3 separate regions of the Homo sapiens genome follow, and all the other regions are linked to region 1. Evidence: promoter capture Hi-C in 16 types of primary human blood cells and fetal thymus (Javierre and others, 2016). All regions are on one chromosome and are shown on one strand. Each heading gives the region's core, a stretch centred on a gene start or on the middle of the fragment in contact. The rest is flanking DNA. Distances are from core to core; before and after follow the strand shown.

The links. The method cuts DNA at HindIII sites, captures the fragments that hold promoters and counts their contacts. A CHiCAGO score of 5 or more calls a contact.
Region 2: a contact is called between a fragment that was not itself captured here and the fragment with the promoter of MAB21L3 in region 1, in 12 of 17 cell types (naive CD4 T cells, fetal thymus, naive B cells and 9 more). The highest score is 11.6, in naive CD4 T cells.
Region 3: a contact is called between a fragment that was not itself captured here and the fragment with the promoter of MAB21L3 in region 1, in 3 of 17 cell types (naive CD4 T cells, fetal thymus and total CD4 T cells). The highest score is 7.0, in naive CD4 T cells.

The regions. Positions count from the first base shown.
Region 1 is chr1:116,110,019-116,113,288 of GRCh38, reverse strand. MAB21L3 (mab-21 like 3) reads right to left here and starts at 1,890. Exons shown (of 8, transcript NM_152367.3): 1 at 1,779-1,890; 2 at 1,479-1,660; 3 at 626-882. The coding sequence starts at 673. The HindIII fragment of the contact is 2,542 bases long and covers 234-2,775 here.
Region 2 is chr1:116,490,806-116,494,350 of GRCh38, reverse strand. LOC112268235 (a long non-coding RNA gene) reads right to left here. Exons shown (of 2, transcript XR_002958352.2): 1 at 858-3,545. Among named protein-coding and RNA genes, the nearest start is that of LINC01762, 14 kb to the right of the region's middle. The HindIII fragment of the contact is 1,126 bases long and covers 1,589-2,714 here.
Region 3 is chr1:116,520,553-116,524,016 of GRCh38, reverse strand. CD58 (CD58 molecule) reads left to right here. Exons shown (of 6, transcript NM_001779.3): 4 at 2,034-2,111. Among named protein-coding and RNA genes, the nearest start is that of MIR548AC, 38 kb to the left of the region's middle. The HindIII fragment of the contact is 278 bases long and covers 1,331-1,608 here.

The DNA of each region.
Region 1 (3,270 bases), core at 641-3,140:
AGTGCCTACTTCTTAGTCAATTTAAATATTTTGGTTTTAACATTAACATCATGCCTTAGTAGCTTCATCCGTAAATGAAAAGGCTTAAACTAGGTAATATTTAAGTTTCCTTCAAGTTCTAACATTTGACATGACCATCTAGACCATCTAGAAGAAATTAAGTTCTTAACTGATGTGTACTAAAAATATAATAATATTTAAAAACCTAGTACTTTCACAGTCTTTAAAAAGCTTTGTTTTAATTTCATTAGCTCTTTTTCCATTACCCCATGAAGCTCCTATTATTATTCCCATTTTACAGAGAAGAAGGCCAAGGCTCAGGCAGGTTAAGTGACTCACAACCACACGAGTGTCAGTGGCAGAGCTGGAGTTCCCCCTCATTCCCCAGATTCCTACTCTCCATTCTATATTCTATACTCAGCATGTCTCTGGGTACCAGACCCTCAAAGAGAAGTAAGGCTGATATATGTTAAGCCCCCAAACATTGTTATAGGTGACAGTCTGTTTTCTGAGGAGCATTTTATGTGTCTTTAGAAAGAGCCTGAGATCCTTTCTGGACGAAGGTTTGTTTGGAAGTAGTGTGAATGGGGAGGGGGTTCATGGGAGAGACCGGGTCTGTCCTTACCTTATTCAGTAGGCAATCTTCTAAGTCTCCCACAGTAAGGTATTTCATGGCTTCTTGGTCAGTCCTCAGTAGAACAGCAACTTCCTGGTTTTTTTTTTTTTCTCAATGGAGTGCAACACTTGTGAGTAGATAGCACTCCCAGTAATGTGAGTCTCTGGGTACTAAGTTTTTCTGGAAGTGTGTAATGGACCAGAGACTTGCCTTCCGAACCCTTCACTCATGTTTTTATTTCCAAATTGTGAAAATCCATCTGTCATCTTTTGGGAAATTAAAAAAAAAAGAATTTAAAAAGAAGAGTTGATAAAATTGAATTTGAGTCCAACCTAATCATACCTTAGTTAGCTACATTGACTGGTGCTTTCACCAGAGAGCAATTTTCCAAATTGTATTTCCCACCCAAGTACTTAAAAGTTCCATCCAAGTCAGAAATACCCTGTAGTTGGCTTCTCCCCACCTTTTATGCTCCTGTCCCAACACTAGATGCACCGTGGAACTCAGTATCTTATATCTCCTGGTCCTTATCCTGTTGACAGTAAACACCCCTTGCTCTCCAAGCCAGAAAATCCCACGGATTGATTTACCTTCTTTACAATAAACAAATAGGAAACTGCCCAACAACCAGCCTGACACCCATCATTATGCCCGCAAACAAGTGATCAGGTCTTGTCAGCCAGCGCAGAGCACAACGGTTGGCATTTAGAAAAGCATGCACACACGTACACACAGGCACACACATATACACAGGCACACACGTACACACAGGCACACACATATACACAGGCACACACACGTACACAGAGTGCACACGGGCACACACCCACAGGAATGGCTGGTCAGGAATCCTTCTGCTCACCTGCTGACCTTTAAACGTAATTTCCCTCTTCCAACTTGAAAGCTGGCAGTAAAAATAAAGTCAGTGTAAACAGGTCCCTTTAGAGTCGAGGGAACACTCACGTCTGGTTTTGCCAGCAAAACTTATGTTGGAAAACAGCTCAGGCAGTAAATTCCCAGTTGGGCTGGCTGGGGCTAGTTTTACTACAGAAAAAAAAAAAAAATTTCACAATGGTCTGATCTCCTTGAAGCTGGTAAACATCACGGAGTCTGCTATCAGATAATCTAAAGAAATTACAGCCCTTCTGGGAGCACTACTTACTTTTAAACAATGTTCCAAAGGCAAGTGTTTCCAAGCCCACCTGTAAGTGCTGCCCACAAAGGCCACTGCACTATTTGGGGCCTCAGCGTTTGCATATCTTCCCATACTCTGCCCCAAGCAAAAGCCGCATCAGAGCTCCCTAGCTGCTCTGTGCCCCACCCACGTCATTACCTCCAGCTTTCAGTCCAACTTCTACAGAACTCCTGCCAATGCACAGCCTGATATAAATATTGTAAAGCTACATCCTCTCCAATGACCCTCTGATAGCACCCCTCAAAACAGCCTTGATTTTCCATTTGTTTCTATATGTAATTCTAAATCTCCTTCTTTTGATATCAAGTGCTCCCAAATTTTTCAGAATCTTATTCCCTGGGCTTTTCTTATCATAGTAGTGCCAAACTATTTGTTTTTCACAGACAGCAAGAGCCTCTTTCTCTGAACTTGCAATTTAGAATTCTCTCTCCACCTCATTTTCAACATTACGAAAGTCCCACTGTTTCTCTCATGTGCTCATTTTTGTTGTTACTTCTGCTTTCACTGTAATCATTAACTTGTGAGTCCCTTTCCTCCGGTGGGGTCTTTCCTAATGTTCGAGGGTTACCCCAGACACCTGTCATCAGATGCACAAACTTTCATTATTTTTGCACCTGTGGCTGCCCTATCTTGATTGCTCCAGTACCGCAGCTGATCAAAATGTTATAACTGGAATATTCTCTTGCCCTACGATCCAGCGACAATTGCCGGCTGTGAGCAGGGAAAGCAACCAACAGGGCCAACTGAGCAATCAGGAAACGAAGAAATAATCATGTGCTCAGGGAAGCTACACAGTCCGATTTTACCAGGATGTCATATCCAGGGAATAGGTGTGTTGTGGGGGCACAACCCAATTCCCTACTCCATGATTTAGCTCCTTATGGGCAAATGCTCTGAAATACAGGGCAGTCCCACAAATAGACTCTCTGACAGCTCCTGTCTGACAGTTTGATGAAGACAAGCTTTTTTTAGATGTAGATATCTGGGTAATTGGATATAGGATTCGCAAAAGGATTGAATTACAGTAAGCCTAAGGCACTTGTATGCTAGGCCACTGAGGAAATTCAAAGTTAGCTCAGGTTCTCTTCCTTCCTCAGAAAATAAATATTCTCCTTTCTCATGACTCACACCAAATGCAAGTACGGAAATGTAAACCTGCTTTGGCTCAGTTTCCATTGTGAAGACTAAGAACTTATTACAAGTCAGGTTAACAAGGCATGCAAAACCCTACGCTGCCAATCTGAGAAGTCCCGGGGAGATAATGCTAGCCCTGGTTTACCAGCAGAAGTGTTTGTTACTGATTTACTTAGTGTCTGAGATTTTAATTCCAAGAAGGAGGAAGGTTAGCTTGATCAAAATCAACCTTAAATATACAAATTTGTTAAAGTTTGCAGGATTACAAACTCTGACTTTTTTTTTTTTTTTGAGACGGAGTCTCGCTCTGTCGCCCAGGCTGGAG
Region 2 (3,545 bases), core at 902-3,401, 380 kb before region 1:
TGGAGTTCTGGCCTCTCCTAGCAGTGAGTGACAGTGTTGGAGGGGCCTTGGACACCTTGGGTAATTGCTAACTAAATATGAGCAGTAGGGGAAGGTCTTCTGGTCCACGGCAGAGCCAACGGGGCACTTCCTCTTCTCTTTTCTAGTCAGGGTAGAAAGCTAGAAAGAATCCTAAAAATCACTATCCAAGTCCCCATTGTGTGGGGACAGAGGCCTGGCCTGAAGCCTAGGCTGGAGGGTTCAGTCGGAAGCAGAAGCCGGGAGACTGCATGAGAGGGTTCCTTCCAGCTTCACCAAGCCCGTGCTGCGCGGGATGAAGAAAGTCAAGCCTGTCTTCCAGTGGGGCCCTGAGGTGGGGGAGCTGGAGGATAGGGTGGCAGCTTTTTTATCAGCTGTCCCCAAAAGAGGCCCTTCTCCCAGTTGCCACGGACCAAAGCTCCTCCTGGGAGCTCCAGCCTGTCTGTTCAATGTTTGCCTTGCGCCTTTTCCTGGTGAGGCCACCCCCGGCACCATCTCAGGCCTCAGAAGGACGACCTCACTGAAACAGCCCTTAGGTTGGGAAAGAAGCAAGCCCTCCGCGCCCCGTCCAAGTCTCTCAACTGGGCACGAGCACACACAGACGCCCAGGCCCTGTCCCTGCGCCAGAATGGCCGCTCGCGTTTCCAGGCACGATGCCCCTTTCCATGAGTGCACAGAGCCCTGGGCTGAGCTGGGGGCCGAGCTCCACGCTCTCTGAGCAGCTCTGAGCGGCACGCCAAAGAAGGTCTTTCAGATGGGCTCTGGGATGTGGAACCATGGCGTCCAGCCCTAGCGTCGACTCCACACTAGAGGCACCCTGACTTTCGCCCCCTTCTTACCTGAGTATCAGCTTACTTCCATCTGGGGACTGAATATGGGGCAGATTCCAGAAAAAGGAGGTTGGGGCACCAAAACCAACACCAACTCTGCCAACGGAGCCAGCACAGCTATTTGTCTCCAACCACAGGCCGCAAGGGAAGTTCACGGGCTCGGCACCCCCAGGTCCCGGATGTAAGGATATTGCCCGTTAGACAAAGGAAAGGCCCCAAGTCCACAACTCATGTTTGTGAGCTTAACCTTGTCCTATAAAGCACTTTGGAACAGGCCCAGGTTCTCCCACCATGTACAGCTGCCATTGACCTGGACAGTCCCGCAAGGTCCTTCAGTGGAAACCCAGAAGGGAGAGTCACTGCATGTGAACCCTAAGGGTTCTGGAGGTCAAAGTTGCTGTGGGTGACAGGCAACCAAGACTAAGGGCAAACTTGAAACATAAATGAGTTAAAACCCACAAAAATAAGACAGTTTTAAATAACTAAACTGTTTTCTCATTCTTCCTTTTTCATCTGAGGACGTTTTAGGCAAATGAAGCTTTAGAGTTTTTCTCCTTTCATTGGGTTGACAGTGTTTAAAATTATATCCAGAGCTGTCTAATTTGCCTATTGCTCTAGGCATACTGATCCTCAGGAGGTAAGATTGGATGGGTTAAAGTGGACAGGCTCAGGGGCTGAGACTGTCCATCTCTCTGAGAGTCGGGGGCAGCATTTATCAGGGGCCTGTGGTCAGCCAAGCTTGGCTTGGGCTCTGTGGGAAGATAAAACCAACTGGCCCAGATGGACTTCTGTGGGGCCTGGATACTGTTGGGAAGATAAAGCACATAAGCCCGGTAAGAAAAAAAAAAAAAAAAAAAAAAAAAAGCCCAGGAGAAGGAATGCAAGTGATTCCAATGCAATTGAATTAAGTACAAACTCACTAGGAATGGGGGGGGGGGTTTGATTGGCGAAGGGGTTAGTCAGGGGTGGTTAACCACAGAAGATTGAGGAGGTGAACTTTAAGTTGGACTTGGAGGTAGAAGAGAGAAGTTAGGGGAAGCATTTGTTTTATATTTGGGTGGGGTGCGTGGGAGTGTGGATAAGTGAAGTGTCACACACACACACACACACAACTTTGAGTAGGAAGAGGGTCAAGATGACCAGGTTGGCCTAGACAAGTCAGTACTAGCTTAAAAAGTCACACTCAGGATTCCTGCAGCACCTCCCCCATACCCACCCCCACCCCAATGGGCACAGCACTCCCTCTTCTCTCCAACGCAGGCCTCCTGTCTGGGGTGCTATGATCATTTCCATAGCAACCAATTGCTCTGTGACAGAGACATAATTCTGACTCCAGGTAGGTTATGAACAGAAGAAACATATGAAACCAGTAAGTGACAGAGATCTAGTTTTCCAGTAAGTGCCCTGCTAATAAAGAAGAGAAAATGCACAAACTAAAAGATAAATGGAACAGGAATGAGCAAATGCTAAATTTTCTATGAGGCATCAGCTGTTTGTTTGCTAAAAACAATAGCAACCTAATAGTTTCAACAAGAATGGTGCTGGCAAGGACAGCTCAGAACAGCCTCTGTCAGTCTGCAGAGTAGGGGCGATGGCAGAGCCCGGGTATGCACAGTGTCAGGGTTGTGAGGCAGAAAGATGCCTTAAACGCATCACCTCAATCCTGCACACATCCCTAGTGCCTTTATTGGAAAAGCTGCACTGCTGCTGCTGTGAATCCAGCATGACCTCGCCTTCATTCATTCATTCACTTATACATGCATGCATGCATGCATATATTCAAGAACTCATCAGTGCTAGGTAGGTTACTAATTAGAAATAATTGGGAGAAAAGTCTGAATTACTAGGTATTTTAGAAGCAAAGCTTTCTTACTCTGAAAGCATGGCTGAGATGGTGCCTTCAGCAGGGACTCAGAGAGTCTGATCCAGTCTGGGTCTGCCACTCACACTCTGTATAACCTTGTGCAAGCCACTTACCAGTCTTGGTCTTCATCTTGTAGATGAGGTGATTGGTGATCTATGTGATGCTTCCAGATCTGTCTAGTTCAGAGGCCTGCTTTAAGTGTCTAAACGGTTAATGTCAGAGTGAGTTGATGTGTTCGGTATTTTCATAGAGCAGAACCAAGACTGTTTACTCATTTACCATTTATTTCCACCTTCTGTTGATATTGATTGACCACTTACTATGTGACAGTCACAGATCTAGGCATCAGAAATAAAGGTAAGACGTGATGGTGGCTTCAGGGCCCTCATGGCCAGGTTGGGGGACAGGCAGGCCCAGGCTCAGACCCATAGGGCACAAGCTGGTCTCCAAGTGTGGACAGAGCTCATCAGGTGTGGGGAAGGGCACCTCCACCTGTGGTCAAGAGCTCTCTCCACACCCTGGATGGGGCTGGAAGGAAAGGCAGGAGGCAGACTCAGAGAGGAGGAGCTGCATGGAGAGGGGGTGCTGAGGAAGCCCCACATGACCCAGGAATCTTGCGGGGAGCGGAGAGTAGAGAGATGCAGACAGGCCATGCCAAGGCCCGTGCTCTGACATCATGGTCATCCTTCTCAAAGATCTGGAGATTAACAGACCACATAGAAGAAGGGGCAATAAGTTAAGGAGAAAGAAAATAAGCAGAATCCCAGGAGAGAAGAGCATAAGGTCTGGGCTTTGTGCAGGCATATTTGCCTCCAGGGGAGATACCAGTTGCT
Region 3 (3,464 bases), core at 220-2,719, 410 kb before region 1:
GACAATTGGAACATCAATAAGAATAACAACTTCAGTAGATTGAAACACATCAGTTGTGCTCAGTTCATGCGTTCATAATGTACTAAAAACAAATTTAAAAACTCACTGGTCATCTCTAGAGAATGCTTGGGAGCTAACTCATTATTTTGAAAAACGATAAAGAAAGAGAAGAATCAAATGCTGCTTTTCCTATATAAATTGAACCTCAGAGTAACCACATTGTTGATGAGGGGCAGTTTATCTTTATGTGAAGATTGTAGTTAGTAAAGAAGGAATGATAGACTAAACCACTTTGCAAACCCTTGATGAACTTATGGCTCTAGACAATGATCTTCAGTGGCACTGACATCATGAAAAGAAAAGCAACCAGGCATCGTATGCCACCTAAGGGAAGTATACAAACACTACTTGGGGAGTATTATTGCCAAGGAATATCTGAATTTTGCTACTAAAGAAGGGAAAATGATGTTCGGGGGCACCTAGCAGTTTCTGGCCAGGGTCTTCTCAAATCTGACCAATAGGTGACTGCCTATTTGCTCCAACACACCTGTGTTCCTAATAAAAGGAAAGTGTGATCATATCCTTATTCTCATTTATTCATTCATTTTCTCTCTCTCTTCCTCCTCTCCCTTCCTTTCCCTTCCTTTCCCATATCCATGTCACATTTGTTCTTAGTGACCCCTCCCCAATCCTTTAGCAGTGCATTGTGTACTCTGATTTTGGATTTTCAATAGCTGGATAGAGTTTACCTTGTGAACATACCACAGTTTTTTGTGAAAACAAGGAGCTGCTGTGAAAACAACTTAGGTTGTTTTTGCCTTATGGTATATTAAGTAAGGCTGCAGTAAATATCTTTGTGCCTTTTTGCGGGGAGTAGAAGGGCACATCATTGATATTTTCCCCAGGATAACATCTTAGAAATGGAATTGCAGAGTCACAAGATATTAATAGAGATACCAATAACATCTACTCAATAGGTTAATGACAGTATATAACAGCTGTTCTTAAATGCAACTACCCTATGAGATAAGTATATTTATTAGTCTCGAGTATAGTTACCCTGTGAGAAAATGGAGGCACTGAGAGGTTAAGGCACTTGCCCAACATTGTAATGACTTAGTGAGACTATAGGCACATGACTTAGTGCAATGTCTAGATGCTTCATGATAAATATTTTTAAGGCTTATTATATACAACTGCCAGAATTGCCCTACCAAACACAATGCCAAGTTCTGCTTCCACTGGCAGTATGAGATGGTCAGAAACAAACCTTCTAGTGGAACACTTGCTTCTTTTATTAAATAACACAGGGTCTGGAATGTATCAAGCTTGTGCATATAAGTTTGTTTAGAAATAGTCGAATCTTGTTATTCATATTAGTTCTACAGAGTCAAGTTAACAGTGAAATAGCAAGTAGTGAAGTAATGTTCCTGGGGGAAATACAGGGGTAGGTTCCTGTGAGCCTCTAGTCATAAGATTTTTGTTAATGATCTGTTTATAACCTTGTTTTATGTGTGTCTCTGTTTAAATAAACCTTAATATATAGTGTTGATTTATTGACCTTGAACTCATAGCCAACAGCACTGTAACTCATGCCTAAGTGAAGCTTATCTAATACACCTATTTTCTCTGCAAGGCACATCGCAGCCTTCTTGCACTTAGGAACTCTTGTCAGCCCTTCAACACTATACTTTGGGACCACTTAAAATAGTGAAATCACCAACAAAAAAGCACAAAAATGCAAAATCATGGCACTAAATAGACTGCAAATAGGACACTTGTTAACAGTGTAAGAACTTGAAACAAGAAGGCAGAGCTTTACCTTTTTCCACCTCTGCTGGGAATCTGCTTATTGGGTGACTCAAAGTTTTCATCACTGTTCTTATGTCTGAGAATGACTGCTTTGGGTATTGATTTGTGGATTACAAATAAATTTCAGTAAATAAGCAAACCGCAAGGTGGAATCTGCAAATAATGAGGATCCATTTTGATCAGTTCAACTAGTTGAATTTCTTTTCTTTTCTTTTTTATAGGTCATTCAAGACACAGATATGCACTTATACCCATACCATTAGCAGTAATTACAACATGTATTGTGCTGTATATGAATGGTATGTATGCTTTTTAAAACAAAATAGTTTGAAAACTTGCATTGTTTTCCAAAGGTCAGAAAATAGTTTAAGGATGAAAATAAAGTTTGAAATTTTAGACATTTGAAAAGAAACAAAAACTTTTTTGCTTTACGTGTGTGGGACTGCTGAGCATGCTAGGTTCCTCCAAAGATCCACATTATCTCAAGGTAGAATGAATCCTTAGGCCACAGAGAGCTTTACAGGCCTGGGAACACAGCCTGGACCTGTTGCATAGCCTCCTTTTACCTGTGATCTGCTTCAAAATATAGTTAAACTTCTGGTCTCCAAGTCAGAGTTTGCTAAAGACCTCTTTAGGCTGCCACCTCTGTAATTTTCATGTCATATAACACGAATGGGGCTCCCAGGTAGGAAGGGAGTTTTGGTTGAGTTAAGTGACTTACGTAATACAAGTAATTGTGCTTGTATTACTTCCTGAGCCTTCTCAGTCCCCTAGCAATCTTGGGCAGTCATACAGCTTGGAGAACTGATGACTTGGAGAATTTGTTCCCAGCCTGTTCATTCCTGGTAATGAGTAATCCCTCTCAAATCCCAAAGGACAGGGAGCAGGCTGTAATTCTGAAGAGTGGATATTCTTGATGCCACAGCAGTTTCCATACCAGCCTTCACCAAAAGGAAATATGCCAGACAGGGAATGCCGAAGAGTAAACTTTCTACAAGTGATAGTATCTAGGATCCATTGTGTCATGAATCAAGTTTATAAACTAGATTTCAGTTTCCTTAGACCTGCACTGTTTAGTATAGTAGCCAATTAGCCACATATGATTATTTAAATATATCATTTAAAATGAAATACCATTAAATTTAAGATTCATTCCTCAGTTACACTAACCACCTTTCAAGTGCTCAATACCTACATCTGGCTAGTGGCTACCATACTGGATAGCCCAGATAAGGAATAATCCTATCATTGCAGAAAGTTTTCTTGGTCAGTGCAGAACTAGACTATTTTGCGATATCAGTGCTAAATATAATTTCCTGATGATAACATTTTCATATTATAAGTTGTAAATACCATGAAAATCCATCCCTAAGTAATAGATTATCAGTCAGTTGACTCTCCACTAAACAGTATTATAACGATCAGCTGAAGAAAGTTTTCAGCTATTGCCCAATGCATAAAATATTTTGGGAGCTCAAATTTTTTAAAAATCTATTTTAATCCCCAAATAGCAGTATAATAGTTAATCATCTCCTGAACAGGTTGGTTCCCAGAAACCAAAATCATTTTCCACTCAGTGTTGTTGTAGATCTCAATTAAAGAACTAACCCAGGATACCTGAACTAAAGAGAGGTGGCACTGAGTTTCCATAG